Linked DNA regions of Homo sapiens: regions 2, 3, 4 and 5 are each linked to region 1. The links are contacts of gene promoters, found by promoter capture Hi-C in human tissues and cell types (Jung and others, 2019). All regions are on one chromosome and are shown on one strand. Each heading gives the region's core, a stretch centred on a gene start or on the middle of the fragment in contact. The rest is flanking DNA. Distances are from core to core; before and after follow the strand shown. Region 1 holds the start of THAP11 (THAP domain containing 11). Region 2 overlaps CTCF (CCCTC-binding factor). Region 3 overlaps CTCF (CCCTC-binding factor). Region 4 overlaps DUS2 (dihydrouridine synthase 2). Region 5 has its middle 6.3 kb from the start of DPEP2NB.

Evidence for each region. The method cuts DNA at HindIII sites, captures the fragments that hold promoters and counts their contacts. A contact is called where the count stands out against the background at its distance.
Region 2: a fragment that was not itself captured here is called in contact with the fragment with the promoter of THAP11 in region 1 in 9 of the 25 tissues and cell types used here (adrenal gland, dorsolateral prefrontal cortex, hippocampus and 6 more).
Region 3: a contact is called between a fragment that was not itself captured here and the fragment with the promoter of THAP11 in region 1, in 7 of the 25 tissues and cell types used here (IMR-90 fibroblasts, dorsolateral prefrontal cortex, lymphoblastoid cells and 4 more).
Region 4: a contact is called between a fragment that was not itself captured here and the fragment with the promoter of THAP11 in region 1, in 12 of the 25 tissues and cell types used here (IMR-90 fibroblasts, adrenal gland, bladder and 9 more).
Region 5: a contact is called between a fragment that was not itself captured here and the fragment with the promoter of THAP11 in region 1, in 1 of the 25 tissues and cell types used here (heart right ventricle).

What each region holds. Positions count from the first base shown.
Region 1 is chr16:67,841,038-67,843,737 of GRCh38, reverse strand. THAP11 (THAP domain containing 11) reads right to left here and starts at 1,418. Exons shown (of 1, transcript NM_020457.3): 1 at 1-1,418. The coding sequence starts at 1,183. The coding sequence ends at 239. All of the region lies in intron 1 of CENPT (centromere protein T), which reads left to right. RefSeq lists enhancers at 95-144, 585-744, 456-1,202, 1,655-1,704 and a silencer at 1,225-1,404. The HindIII fragment of the contact is 20,232 bases long and covers 1-2,700 here.
Region 2 is chr16:67,606,888-67,609,690 of GRCh38, reverse strand. The region is part of intron 2 of CTCF (CCCTC-binding factor); the gene reads right to left. Among named protein-coding and RNA genes, the nearest start is that of CARMIL2, 37 kb to the left of the region's middle. The HindIII fragment of the contact is 5,706 bases long and covers 1-2,803 here.
Region 3 is chr16:67,590,770-67,593,469 of GRCh38, reverse strand. All of the region lies in intron 2 of CTCF (CCCTC-binding factor), which reads right to left. Among named protein-coding and RNA genes, the nearest start is that of CTCF, 30 kb to the right of the region's middle. The HindIII fragment of the contact is 6,285 bases long and covers 1-2,700 here.
Region 4 is chr16:68,031,753-68,034,452 of GRCh38, reverse strand. All of the region lies in intron 2 of DUS2 (dihydrouridine synthase 2), which reads right to left. Among named protein-coding and RNA genes, the nearest start is that of DUS2, 9.8 kb to the right of the region's middle. The HindIII fragment of the contact is 8,004 bases long and covers 1-2,700 here.
Region 5 is chr16:68,008,261-68,010,960 of GRCh38, reverse strand. No RefSeq gene overlaps it. Among named protein-coding and RNA genes, the nearest start is that of DPEP2NB, 6.3 kb to the left of the region's middle. The HindIII fragment of the contact is 3,801 bases long and covers 1-2,700 here.

The DNA.
Region 1 (2,700 bases), core at 169-2,668:
TGGGGAGGAAGGGTAGACAAAGTCATAATTGCTGGTGTCACCAGGGCAGAGTCTAAGGCCCCAGCTTCCACTTCAGGAGGAAACAATTGAGGATGCCAGGTCACCAGCAAGAGAGTCCAGCTGCCTTAAGCCTCAGTACTGTCAACCAGTGCCCAGGAGTATAGAGGAGTTCAACAATGGCCTGCGGTCCCCTGGCTGGATGGGGTCTGGGAGTCCAGCAGGCTGCCGGGGCACCAGTTCACATTCCGTGCTTCTTGCGGATGACAGCCATGGCAAGCAGCCGATCCTTCTCACGCAGTTCTTCGCGCAGCTTGGCCTCAGTGAGACGCAGGTGGCGAATGCTGCCTTTCATCTCTTTCATCTTCACTTCCATCAGAGCCAGGATGTCCCGCTGCTCATTCAGCTTGCGCAGGAGCTCCTCCTCCGTGGTGCCTGACGACAAGGAGTACGAATGGTCGGAGCCAGTATCAGGGAAGCCCTCTTCCCCTACCACCACCAACTGGGGGCCCATAGGGCACTCGGCAGCCTCCAGCCCTGCGGTAGCAGCCTGTAACTCCGACGCGGCGGCCGCAGCGGCTGCGCCCTCTGCGGCTGCAAACTCCACTTGCACTGTGAGATCGATGGGCTTCACGTCTTCTCCAGTGGGAGTGATGGGCGCCGGCTGTACGGATCCCGGAGCCTGACTGCTGTCTACAGTGGCCTGAAGGGTGAGAAGCACGGCCGCGGAAGCAGATACCAGGTTCGGCTGCAGCTGGGCAGTCTGGGCAGTGGAGGCAGAGGGTGAGGACTGCTGCTGCTGCTGCTGCTGCTGCTGCTGTTGCTGCTGCTGCTGCTGTTGCTGCTGTTGCTGCTGCTGCTGCTGTTGCTGCTGCTGCCTGCGGCGGGCGGCCGCGGCCCCAGCGGGTCTGCGCGCTACTTTGCGCTCATTGACGCCGCGCAGCGGGAAGATGGTGGGGACGCGTACCGTGTAGGTCTTGCGGCCGCCCTGGAAGTGAACGCTGCAGAGACGGTGGCCTGTGGTGGGCTGGAAGGTGGAGAAGCACCCACTGACGCCGGCACGCGACACGTTCTTGAGCCAGAGGCGCCGCAACTCAGCGTCCTTTGGAAACGTGTAGAAGTGCAGCGCCTTGTCCCGGTGCGAGTTGTTGTAGCAGCCTGGCACGCAGCACGTAAAGCCAGGCATGGCTGCGCCGCGCGGCCCGGCCCGGCCCACCGGCCTCCTGCGCTCTTCGACGGCCCAGTGGCTACGCCGCCGCCCGCCCCTCGACGGGCGGCGCCGCGCGAGGCCTTGGGTGGTATCCCACCACTGCCGCTCGGCGCAGCCGGCCCGCCCGGCGCCCCGTGCCCAGAATACGCTTCCTGCCGGCCCGCGCCGCGCCGCCCGCCTGGCTGCCCGCCTGCGCTCGGGAGTGGGCCCCGGGGACGCCGCGAAGGACCGCCTGAGAAAGAGACTACGCCCCCCACAATGCCCCGCGCCAGAAGCGGCTCACTTCCGGGGCGGGTGTGTGCGGATTCCTGCCGCCTTCCAAGGCACTGCGATAGCCTCCGAAGAGCAGATTCTTTCCCCAGCCCGTCTTGTCCCCGGCGGGCGAGAGAGGCGTATTAGGTTGGAACGCTGTCGCCTGGACTGCTCCTCACGAGGACCCGAATCCTGATAGGGGCGTGGAGCGGGGCGGTGCGCGCCTCACCGGTGCGCAAGCGCGGTGGGTATATGCCCACGGAGACTACAAATCCCGTGATGCCTCGCGCTGAACTAGGCGCCTTCCCTCCGAAGCGCCGCCTAAGGGAAAGATCGAGTTACTGCGGACCAGGATTCGGGCGAGGTTGTGCTGTTTGCCAGAACCAGTTCCCCAGCCCCGAGCCCCTTTGAGTCGACGGCATTGCTGCAGCAGAGGGAGACGAAACCTGGGCCTCGGCGCCCCGAAGGGTCTCAGGAGCCCCTTTCTTTGCGTTGGGGACTCTCTCCTGATTCAGCTGCTGCCTGCGTTGACTAACTGATCTAAACAAAGTCTCCAGTAGACGCCTACTATGTGGCTGACACGGTGCCGGGAGTTTGCGGGAGTCAGACCGACTGGGCTCCTCTCTTGGAGCCTGACTACCTAGACGGATAAGCGTCTGTCTTTTGGATAATAGATCTGAATGCACGCGAATGGATGTCTACTCACAAATAGTAATCGCTCCAAAGGAATTAACAGGAGAGCAGAGAAATGGGGGGGAGGTGGTGGGGGCCAGGAATAAAAAAACGAACGAAAGCTTGGGTAGGGAGAAGTAGCCAATTCTTGTCCCAGGAACCAGTCTGTAAGGCCACATGGCAGAAAAGAGCTAGGCTCCGCCATTAAAGAGCCTGGAAAGGGGTGGCCCGGGTAGGGCCAAGCGTAGGAAAATACCAAACTGGGACATGTTAAGGATTTGGGGTTTTATTCTGCAGGCCACTGAGAGCTATTAAAGGATTTTATGGGAAAGGATTTGCATTGTAACAATACACCTCCCCCCACCTCAACTTATTTGAGGGAATCTTTTTTTTTTTTTTTTTTTTTTTTTTTTGTAAAGGAGTCTCACTGTGTCGCCAGACTGGAGTGCAATGGTGAGATCTCGGCTCACCGCAACCTCCGCCTCCTGGGTTCAAGCAATTCTCCTGCCTCAGCCTCCGGAGTAGCTGGGACTACAGGCGCATGCCACCATGCCCGGCTAATATATATA
Region 2 (2,803 bases), core at 182-2,681, 230 kb after region 1:
GATCGCGCCACTGCACTCCAGCCTGGGCGACAGAGCGAGATTCCATCTCAAAAAAAAAAAAAAAAAGAATTATCAGGCCCAAGATGTCAAGAGCACTGAGGCTGAGAAACTCTGATACAGATAAAAGAGTCTTAAAGAGACAGTAATCAATCACAATGCATGAATCTTCTTTGGATCCTGATTCAAACCAATAAATGGTGAAAAAGATGTGACACAAGACAATTAGAAATTTCAACTCTGGATATCTGATGATATTAAAGAATTACTAACAAAACTAATTTAAATCTTACACATGTAGTGGGGAAGACACTGGTAAAGGACATATAATTTCAGTGGGAATAAGTTCAAGAGATCTATTATACAACATGAATATTACAGTTAATAATAACGTATACCTGAAAATAACTGAGAGCAGATTTTTAAGTGTTCTCATCACAAAAAATGACAAGGATGTGAGATGATGCATATATGAATTAGCTTAATTTTCTGCAATTATGGGGTCTTGCCACATTTCCAGACTGGCCTTGAACTCCTGGGCTGAAGCAATCCTCCCACCTAAGCCTCCCAAAGTGCTGGGATTATACATGTGACTGAGCCACTGTGCCCGGGTCTGCCAATGTTTTGTAAAAAGCTTTATTAAGGTAGCTTTATTAAGCACGTGGTGGCTCACGCCTATAATCCCAGCACTTTGGGAGGCTGAGGTGTGTGGATCACCTGAGGTCGGGAGTACGAGACCACCCTGAACAACATGGAGAAACCCCGTCCTAAGTAAAAATACAAAATTAGCCAGGTGTGATGGTGCATGCCTGTATGTAATCCTGGCTACTTGGGAGGCTGAGGCAGGAGAATCGTTTGACCCGGGAGGTGGAGGTTGCGGTGAGCCAAGATTGCGCCATTGTACTGTGCAGCCTGGGCAACAAGAACGAAACTCCGTCTCAAAAAAGAAAAAAAAAAACACTAAATACACCTCCAAAATTTCCTTGTATTTTGTTTTTGGTGATAATATTTATCATGAGATCCATCCTCAACATAATTCAAAGTGCATAATGCTATACGATTAATACAGGAACTATGTTGTGTAGCAGATCTCTAGAACTTACTCATCTTGCATAACTGAAACTTTATACCCACTCAACAGCAATTCCCCATTTTCCCCACCCTGTCAAGGGTTTTTGACCTTGTTTTTTGAAGCCAAACTCAGAACTTAGATCCAGACTGCAATGGCCGTGTTTGTAGACACTGCACAAAACTGCCCATGTCATACCATCAACTTGACATTCACCTCTCTCCTGACAATGAGATCAGGAATTCCCTGAGAATAAGAACCACATCTAACAAGTCGTTTTTTTTTTTTTAATTTTTTTTTTGAGACGGAGTCTCGCTCTGTTGCCCAGGCTAGGGTGCAGTGGCACGATCTCCGCTCACTGCAAGCTCCGCCTCCCAGGTTCACGCCATTCTCCTGCCTCAGCCTCCCGAGTAGCTGGGACTACAGGCGCCCACCACCATGCCCGGCTAATTTTTTGTATTTTTAGTAGAGACGGGGTTTCACCATGTTAGCCAGGATGGTCTCGATTTCCTGACCTCGTGATCCGCCTGCCTCGGCCTCCCAAAGTGCTGGGATTACAGGTGTGAGCCACTGCGCCCAACCGGTTTTTACTTTTTTTTTTTTTTTGAGTCGGAGTCTCGCACTGTCGCCCAGGCTGGAGTGCAATGGCGTGATCTTGGCTCACTGCAACCTCTGCCTCCCAGGTTTAAGTGATTCTCCTGCTTCAGCCTCCGGAGTAGTTGGGATTACAGGTGCCCACCACCACACCTGGCTAATTTTCTGTATTTTTAGCAGATACGGGGTTTCACTATGTTGGCCAGGCTGGTCTTGAACTTCTGACCTCGTGATCTGTCCGCCTCGGCCTCCCAAAGTGCTGGGACTACAGGCGTGAGCCACCACGCCCAGCCACGGTTTTTACTCTTTAGCACTGTGCCCAGGATGGTAAGTACTCAATAAATGCCAACCAAATTGAATATATAATAGAAAGCAGAAAACAAATCAGCCAATTCATAGTTTTTGGCTCTTATATCTTGTGAATGGGCCGGGCACGGTAGCTCACGCCTGTAATCCCAGCACTTTGGGAGGCCAAGGCTGGTGGATCAGTTGAGGCCAGGAGTTCAAGACCAGCCTGGCTAACATGGCAAAACCCCATCTCTACTAAAAATACAAAAATTAGCCAGGCGTAGTGGTGTGCACCTGTAATCCCAGCTACTTGGGAGGCTGAGGCACGAAAAGAACTTGAACCCTGGAGGTGGAGGTTGCAGCGAGCTGAGAAAGTGCCCCTGCATTCCAGCCTGGGCGACAGAGTGAGACTCGGTCTCAAAAACAAAAAATAAAAAACAAACAAAAATCTTGTGAATGACATTACCTAAACAAGAGTAAAATAGGGGCCAGGCGTGGTGGCTCAGGCCTGTAATCCCAGCATTTTGGGAGGCCGAGGCGGGCAGATCACTTGAAGTCAGGAGATGGAGACAAGCCTGGCCAACACGGCAAAACCCCGTTTCTATTAAAAATACAAAAATTAGCCAGGTGTGGTGGCACATGCCTGTAATCCCAGCTACTCAGGAGGCCGAGGCAGAAGAATTGCTTGAACCTGGGAGGTGGAGGTTGCAGTGAGCTGAGATTGGGCCACTGTACTCCCTCCAGCCAGGGCAACAGAGCGAGCCTCTGTCTCAAAAAAATAATAATAATTAAAATAAAATAAAACATATATAGCTGAGTGTGGTGGGGTGTGCCTCTAATCCCAGCTACTTGGAA
Region 3 (2,700 bases), core at 3-2,502, 250 kb after region 1:
GAATTAAGGCAGGAACAGAAAACCAAGTATCTCATGTTCTCACTTACAAGTGGAAGCTACACACTGGGTACACATGGACATAAACATAACAATAGGCCTTAGGGATTAGGAGGGGGAGGGAGAAAACGGGGTAAGGGCTGCAAAACTAATCATTGGGTACTATGCTCATTACCTGGGTGATGAGCAACAATTGTACCCCCAAACCTCATAATCACACAATATACCCATGTACACAAAAAAACTTGGACATGTACCCCCGAATCTAAAATAAAAGTTGAAATTGTAAAAAATTTTAAGAGAACAGAAGATACCTTGCACCTTTCTCTTTATATGTATAAAATATATATTAAAAACCATATATTAAAATATAAAAAAGATATACAAATATATAAATATAAAATATATATTAAACATTTATACATATATATATAAATTTTTTTTTTCCAGATGGAGTTTCACTCTGTCACCCAGGCTGGAATGCAGTGGCGCGATCTCGGCTCACTGCAACCCCTGCCTCCAGGTTCAACCGATTCTCCTGCCTCAGCCTCCTAAGTAGCTGGGACTACAGGCACATGCCACTGTGCCCCGCTAATTTTTGTATTTTTAGTAGAGACGGGGTTTCACCATGTTGGCCAGGCTGGTCTCAAACTCCTGAGCTCAAGTGATCCACCCACCTCGGCCTCCCAAAGTGCTGAGATTACTGACGTTGAGCCAGTCACCAACGCCTGGCCTCTGTAAGTATCTTTTTTTGATGTTGTTGTTTTTGAGACGGAGTCTCACTCTGTCACCCAGGCTGCAGTGCAGTGGCACGATCTTGGCTCACTGCGACTTCCGCCTCCTGGGCTCAAATAATTCTAATGTCTCAGCCTCCCGAGTGGCTGGGACTACAGGCGCATGCCACCATGCCGGCTAATTTTTATATTTTTAGTAGAGACAGGGTTTCACCATACTGGTCAGGATGGTCTCAAACTTCTGAGCTCTGGTGATCCTCCCACCTCAGCCTCCTAAATTACTGGGATTACAGGCATGAGCCACTGTGCCTGGCCTTATTTATTTTTTTAGACAGATTCTTGCTCTGCCACCCAGGCTGGAGCGCAGTGGCACAATCCCGGCCACTGCAACCTCTGCCTCCAGGGTTCAAGCAATTCTCCTGCCTCAGCCTCCTGAGCAGCTGGGATCACAGGCGTACACCACTATGCCCAGCAAATTTTTGTATTTTTAGTAGAGACAGGGTTTCACTATGTTGGCCAGGCTGGTCTCAAACTCCTGACCTCAGGTGATGTGCCCGCCTCATCCTCCCAAAGTGCTGGGTTTACAGGTGTGAGCCACTGCGTCCAGTCGATAGATCTTTACATTAGAAAAATGTTGACTGAAAAGCTTAGTCTGGTATTCTCACTATACAGAATGTTAAATGACATTAGGACAAGGAGGGGAAAAAAAGCAATTATAAGTCATCAGGTCGGGCACAGTGGCTCACACATATAATCCCAGTACTTGGGGAGGCAGAGCCAAGAGAATCGTTTGAGCCCAGGAGTTCAAGACCAGCCTGAGCAACATAGTGAGACCTTGTCTCCATTAAAAATTAAAAAAAAAATTAGCTAGGTATGATGGCATCCATCTGTAGTCCCAGCTACTCGGGACTGAGGCGGGAGGATCGCCTGAGCCCAGGCTGCAGTAAGCTATCATCACACCACTGCATTCCAGTCTGAGTGACAGCGCAAGACTCTGTGCCCTTACTGCCCCCCCCCAAAAAAAGTAATCAGTTTTTCCTGAGGATGAAAGGAAAAGCTAAGTAACTTTTACTAGATGCAGGACACTAGCCAAAACGAATAAAAGTTATTAACTCTTTTAGAGTAAAAGCTAGGTTTAAAAGTTAAACAAAATAACCATTTTACTCTGCTATTCCTGAAAACATATACGCCATCATCTTATCTGAGAGCTTAAAATACATCAAAGCAAAGTATCAGTGAACTAGTACCAGGAAAGTTGTAGACTACAATAAAGAATGAGGAGGAGTTGAATTGGGAGAATAACTTGGGCTGAGAAGCAGAAAAATAATAGTGACCATTTCTTTCACAGTGACTGGGAACGGAAGCAGCCTTTATCTGAAAAAGCACTCATCTATTTAATCACAACTGTACCTCTCACTTCTCTGACATTAATTTTCATTTATTTTTTGAGACAGAGTCTCGCTCTGTCACCCAGGCTGGAGTGCAGTGGTGAGATCTTGGCTCACTGCAATCTCTGCCTCCTGTGTTCAAGCAATTCTCAGCCTCAGCCTCCTGAGTAGCTGGGATTACAGGCACGCATCACCACGACTAGCTAATTTTTGTATTTTTCGTAGAGATGGGGTTTCATCATGTTGGCTAGGCTAGTCTCAAACTCCTGACCTCAAGTGATCTGCCCGCCTCGGCCTCCCAAAGTGCTGGGATTACGGTGGCTCACGCCTGTAATCACAGCATTTGTGTGAGCCACCCAGTCCAGCATTTTTTTTTTTTTTTTTTTTTTTGAGACAGAGTCTCACTCTGTCATCCAGGCTGGAGTGCAATGGTGCCATCTCAGCTTACTGCAACCTCCACCTCCCGGGTTCAAGCGATTCTCCCGCCTCAGCCTCCCAAGTAGCTGGGATTGATTACAGGCACCAAACATCATGTCCGGCTAATATTTGTATTTTTAGTAGAGACAGGGTTTCGCCATGTT
Region 4 (2,700 bases), core at 199-2,698, 190 kb before region 1:
TGAGGCCATGAGTTCAACACCAGCCTGACCAACATAGCAAAATCCCATCTTTACAAAAAATAAAAATAATAAAAAGACAGGCAATGGCTCACGCCAGTTATCTTAGCACTAAGGAGGCCATGGTGGGGAGATCGCTTGAGTTGGAGATGGGAGATCAGCTTGGAGTTGGAGATTAGCCTGGGTAACATGGCAAGACCTCATCTCTACAGAAACATAAAAATTAGCCAGGAGTGGTAGTGCATGCCTGTAGTACCAGCTCCTAGGGAGGCTGAGGTGAGATCACTAGAGCCTGGGAGGCAGAGGTTGCCGAGCTGAGCTGATATCATACCACTGCACTCCAGCCTGGGTGACAGTGAGACCCTGTTTGAAAATAAAAATAAAACTAGGCCAGGCAAGGTGCCTCACGCCTATAATCCCAACACTTTGGGAGGCCAAGGTGGACAGATTGCTTGAACTCAGGAGTTCAAGATCAGCCTGGGCAACATGGTGAAACCCCATCTCTACAAAAAATGCAAAAATTGGGCTGGGCACGGTGGTTCATGTCTGTAATCCTAGTGCTTTGGGAGGACGAGGTGGGTGGATCACTCGAGGTCAGGAGTTCAAGACTAGCCTGGCCAATATGGTGAAACCCCATCTCTACTAAAAATACAAAAATTAGCCAGACGTGGTGGCATGCGCCTGTAATCCCAGCTACTCAGGAGGCTGAGGCAAGAGAATCACTTGAACCCAGGAGATGAAGTGAGCTGACATTGTGCCACTGCACTCCAGCCTGGGTGACACAGCAAGACTCTATATAAAAAAAAAAAAAAAAAAAAAAATTAGCACCTGTAGTCTCAGCTACTTGGGAGGATGAAGTTGGAGGATCACTTGGGCCTGGGAGGTTGAGGCTGCAGTGAGCCATGATCATGCCACTGCACTCCAACCTGGGTGACAGAGCAAGACCCTGTCTCAAAAAAAATTTTTTTTTAATTTTTAAATAAAAATAATTTTAAAAAGAAATAATCTCTGATCCAAGGTCTAAAGGAAGAGAACATGTTAACCAGTCCAATATGTAGAAAGAAAATCTTTCCCATTTCATTAATAGCATCTCCAGTCTCCCAATTACTCATTCTTAACCCACATTCCCCACATTCAATCCATCACTGACTTCTATTGAAATAACCTTCAAAATATAACTAACCCACATGCTTTACTACATGCCAATGGCCACAACTGCGCACCAGAAACCCTCCGCTCATCTGTTGCCAGGACTTTAGCACAGCCCCCAAATGTGTCTCCCAAAATCTACACTTGCCCCTTCCTATCCATTCTGCCAGCATGGGATCCTAAAAAGGCAACTCTGATAATACCACTCCCCCGTTTATACCTTTCAATGGCTTCCCACTGACTTTAGGAAAAATCCTAAACCTTTCTAATGGCCCACAAGGCCCTGCATGATCAGTCCCTACCCACCTCTCCAGCCTCACCCTCACCTGTGTCTCTCTCACCCTCCCTCTCGGCCCTGGCCACCCTGGCATTCCCTTTTTTTTTTTTTTTTTTTTTTTGAGATGGAGTCTCACTCTGTTGCCCAGGCTGGAGTGCAGTGGCGCAATCTTAGCTCACTGCAACCTCCACCTCCCAGGTTCAGCCTCCTGCCTCAGCCTCCCGAGTAGCTGGGATTACAGGCACCCACCACCACACCCAGCTAACTCCTGACCTCAGGTGATCCACCCACTTTGGCCTTCCAAAGAGCTGGGATTACAGGTGTGAGCCACTGTGCCCGGCCACCCTGGCCTTCCTTTAAAGTCTCCCACACCAAACTGTCTGCTTCCCTGGGGCCTGCCCACTTGCAGTTCTGTCTGGAATACTCCTCCAACTCAGTCATGCATGCCCATGCTAAGGTCCCCTTGTCCTTGAATGCCCCCTTTGTGAAGATACGTCCCTACAGAAAATCAAATTCAGGTCCCTGGTCCCATGCTTTCCAAACACCCTACATTTCTCTGCAGCTCAGTTACACTCCATGTGTCCACACTGACTGCTGTAGTTTCTTGTTCAATCCTCAGCTCCTCCTGGAGACCACCAGGACAACAAGCTCTACAAGAACAGGAGTGTGGCTGCTTAGTTCACTGCCAGATTTCTAGCACTGAGCCAGGTACATGACCTTTAGAGGCTGCTTAGTAAGGTGTGACTGAATACTTACCACTGTGGTAGCCAAGAGGACAGCCTCTTGTAGGGTGGTTGGTCTGGCAACTTCCTCTGGCACTCAGTCAGAGGTGCCTGACACACCCTGCCTCTAAGGAGGCTCCTCTGAGAAAAACTAGGCAGCCCCCATGCCTTTCCCAGTTACTGCCACAACCACTCACCCCACCCTGAGATCACACCCACATCACCACTTTAGTCACTCATTTCCAATCTCTTCTACCATTCCTTTTAAGGGCTGGTCTCCTCTATTACGCTCAATTTCTTAGACAGTAACCTTGGCTGGGCGAGGTGGCTCATGCCTATAATCCCAGCACTTTGGGAGGCCAAGGCAGGAGGATCACCTGAGATCAGGAGTTCCAGACCAGCCTGGCCAACATGATGAAACCCTGTCTCTACTAAAAATAAAAAAATTAGCCAGGCATGGTGGTGTGCACCTGCAATCCCAGCTACTCGGGAGGCTGAAGCAGGAGAATCACTCAAACCAGGGAGGCAGAGGTTGCAGTTAGCCAAGATCGCACC
Region 5 (2,700 bases), core at 201-2,700, 170 kb before region 1:
TGGTATAAAGAAAAATGAAACTGGATAAGAGAATACAGTAATGAGGTGTGCTGTGTTACACCAGGTGGTTAGGGAAGGCTTCTCTGAGATGATGACATTGTGGCTGAGATGTGAGGGAATCGTGAGGAGTAGAAGGGAGAGCATTACTGGAGGAAATTTCAAGTATAATGGTAAGAATGAGACTGATCCATTTTTTCTTTTTTTGAGGTGGGGTCTCACTTTGTCTCCCAGGATGGCGTACAATGGTGCGACCTTGGCTCGTTGCAACCTCTGCCTCTCAGGTTCAAGTGATTCTCCTGCCTCAGCCTCCTGAGTAGCTGGGACTAGAGGCACATGCCACTACACTCGGCTAATTTTTGTGTTTTTAGTAGAGATGGGGTTTCACTATGTTTGCCAGGCTGGTCTTAAACTGCAGACCTCAGGTAATCCGCCAGCGTTGGCCTCCCAGGGTGCTAGGATTACAGGTGTGAGCCAACACACCCGGCCTACAAGACTGACCAATTTGAGGGCCAGCAGAAAGGCCAGTGTGGCCAGGGAAGAAAGATAGAGGAGATTGAAAGATGTGGTGGCTGGGAGGCCAAGGAGGGAGGGTCACTTGAGCCCAGGAGTTTGAGACCAGCCTGGCAACATAGGGAGGTGCCCTTTCTACAAAAAATCAAAAAATCAGCTGGGTGTGGTGGTGAATGCCTGTGGTCCCTAGCTACTCAGGAGGCTGAGGCAGGAGGATTGCTTGAGCCTAGGAGGTATAGGCTGCAACGAGCCATGATCCTGCCACTGCACTCCAGCCTAGGCAACGAGTGAGACTCTGTCAGAAAGAAAGAAAGGAAGGAAGGAAGGAAGGAAAGATGGAAGGAAGGAAGGAAGGAAGGAAGGAAGGAAGGAAGGAAGGAAGGAAGGAAGGAAGGAAGGAAAAAAAAATAAGATGGTTGGAGGCCAGGTGCAGTGGCTCACTCCTGTAATTCCAGCAATTTGGGAGGCTGAGGCTAGTGGATCACCTGAGGTCAGGAGTTCGAGACTAGCCTGGCCAACATGGTGAAACCCTGTCTCTACTAAAAAATACAAAAATTAGCTGGGTGTGGTGGCAGGCGCCTTAATCCCAGCTACTTGGGAGGCAGAGGCAGGAGAATCATTTGAACCCGGGAGGCGAAGGCTGCAGTGAGCCGAGATCGAGCCATTGCACTCAAGCCTGAGGGACAAGAGTGAGACTTGTCTCAAAAAAAAAAAGAAAGAAAAGAAAAAGGTGGTTGGAGAAGTAAGGAAGTAAGCAAGTAAGCATGGGCCAGACCATAGTGGGCCGTGCCAGCCACGGTAAGGACAGTGGATCTTGTTTTAAGTATATTGGGAAGTCATGGAGGAATCTGAATAAGGTAGGGAAGTAATCTGATATAGATGCTAAAAAGATCCGTCTGACTGCTGCGTGCCATGGTAGTGAGGTGCTGGCTGTTACCAGGGGGACTGTCTCTCTCTGCAGCTGGGACAGCTGGTGCTGGGGACTGGGGGATGGAGGAGCAGTCAGCAGAGAAGAAACACCATGACGTTTGTCCCAAGTCTGCCTGTATCAGCAGCCCAGAAAAAGGCGGCACTGTCAGCAACTCACTTGTCCTTAGGGGTCCCAGCAGCAAGACTGTTGCTCCTCCCCCCAACACGCATACCATGGAGGCCAGGAAAGGTCCTGATAGGTTTTCCTAACTTGGGTTAAAGGAAGGAGGCACAGGCCCTGGGCTCCCAGAAAGTTCCCTGTGAGAGTCTCCATTAACCCCCAGAGTCTCTCATCCGTGGCGTGACTGAAGCAGATTTGTGGTTCCTGGATGGCCTGGATAGTTTGGCAGTTCCCAAAGCTGAAACAAATAGACTCAACTGGGGCTCTTAAAAAAGAGTGATCCCGGCCAGGCGCAGTGGCTCACACCTGTAATCCCAGCACTTTGGGAGGCCAAGGCGGGGAGATCACGAGGTCAGGAGATCGAGACCATCCTGGCTAACACGGTGAAACTCCGTCTCTACTAAAAAATACAAAAAAAAAAAAAAAATTAGCCAGGTGTGGTGGTGGGTGCCTGTAGTCCCAGCTACGCGGGAAGCTGAGGCAGGAAAATGGCATGAACCCGGGAGGCGGAGCTTGCAGTGAGCTGAGATCGCGCCATTGCACTCCAGCCTGGGTGACAGAGCGAGACTCGGTCTTAAAAAAAAAAAAGTGATCCCCAGCACCCACACCAGTCTAAAGTTTTAGGGTACTGGCCTAGAAATCCACAGTATTAAAAGCTTCCCCTCAGCTGGCCATGGTGGCTCATGGCTGTAATCCCAGCACTTTGGGAGGCTGAGGTGGGAGGATTGCTTGAGCCCAAGAGTTCGAGACCAGCCTGGGCAACACAGCAGCACTCCATCTCTACAAAAAATATTAACAGTAAAGAATTAGAAAAAAAAATTTTAAATAAATAAAAGCTTGCCTTAACTACCAGTTTATAGAAAACACAAGGACACAGGAACATGTTAAATGACACCATGAGATGCAATCAGAAAACTCTACAACATGGAAAACTCTAACGGACAAGGACGTGATTTTTTCAACAAAGAAATTGCAAGGAAGACAAAAAAAAGAAGAACCTGAAGATTGAGTCATAACAACCATTTACAATGTGGGCGGTCTGAGCTCCATTACAGTTCAAACCAATGAATTATTTAAAAATTGGACAATCAGATAAATTT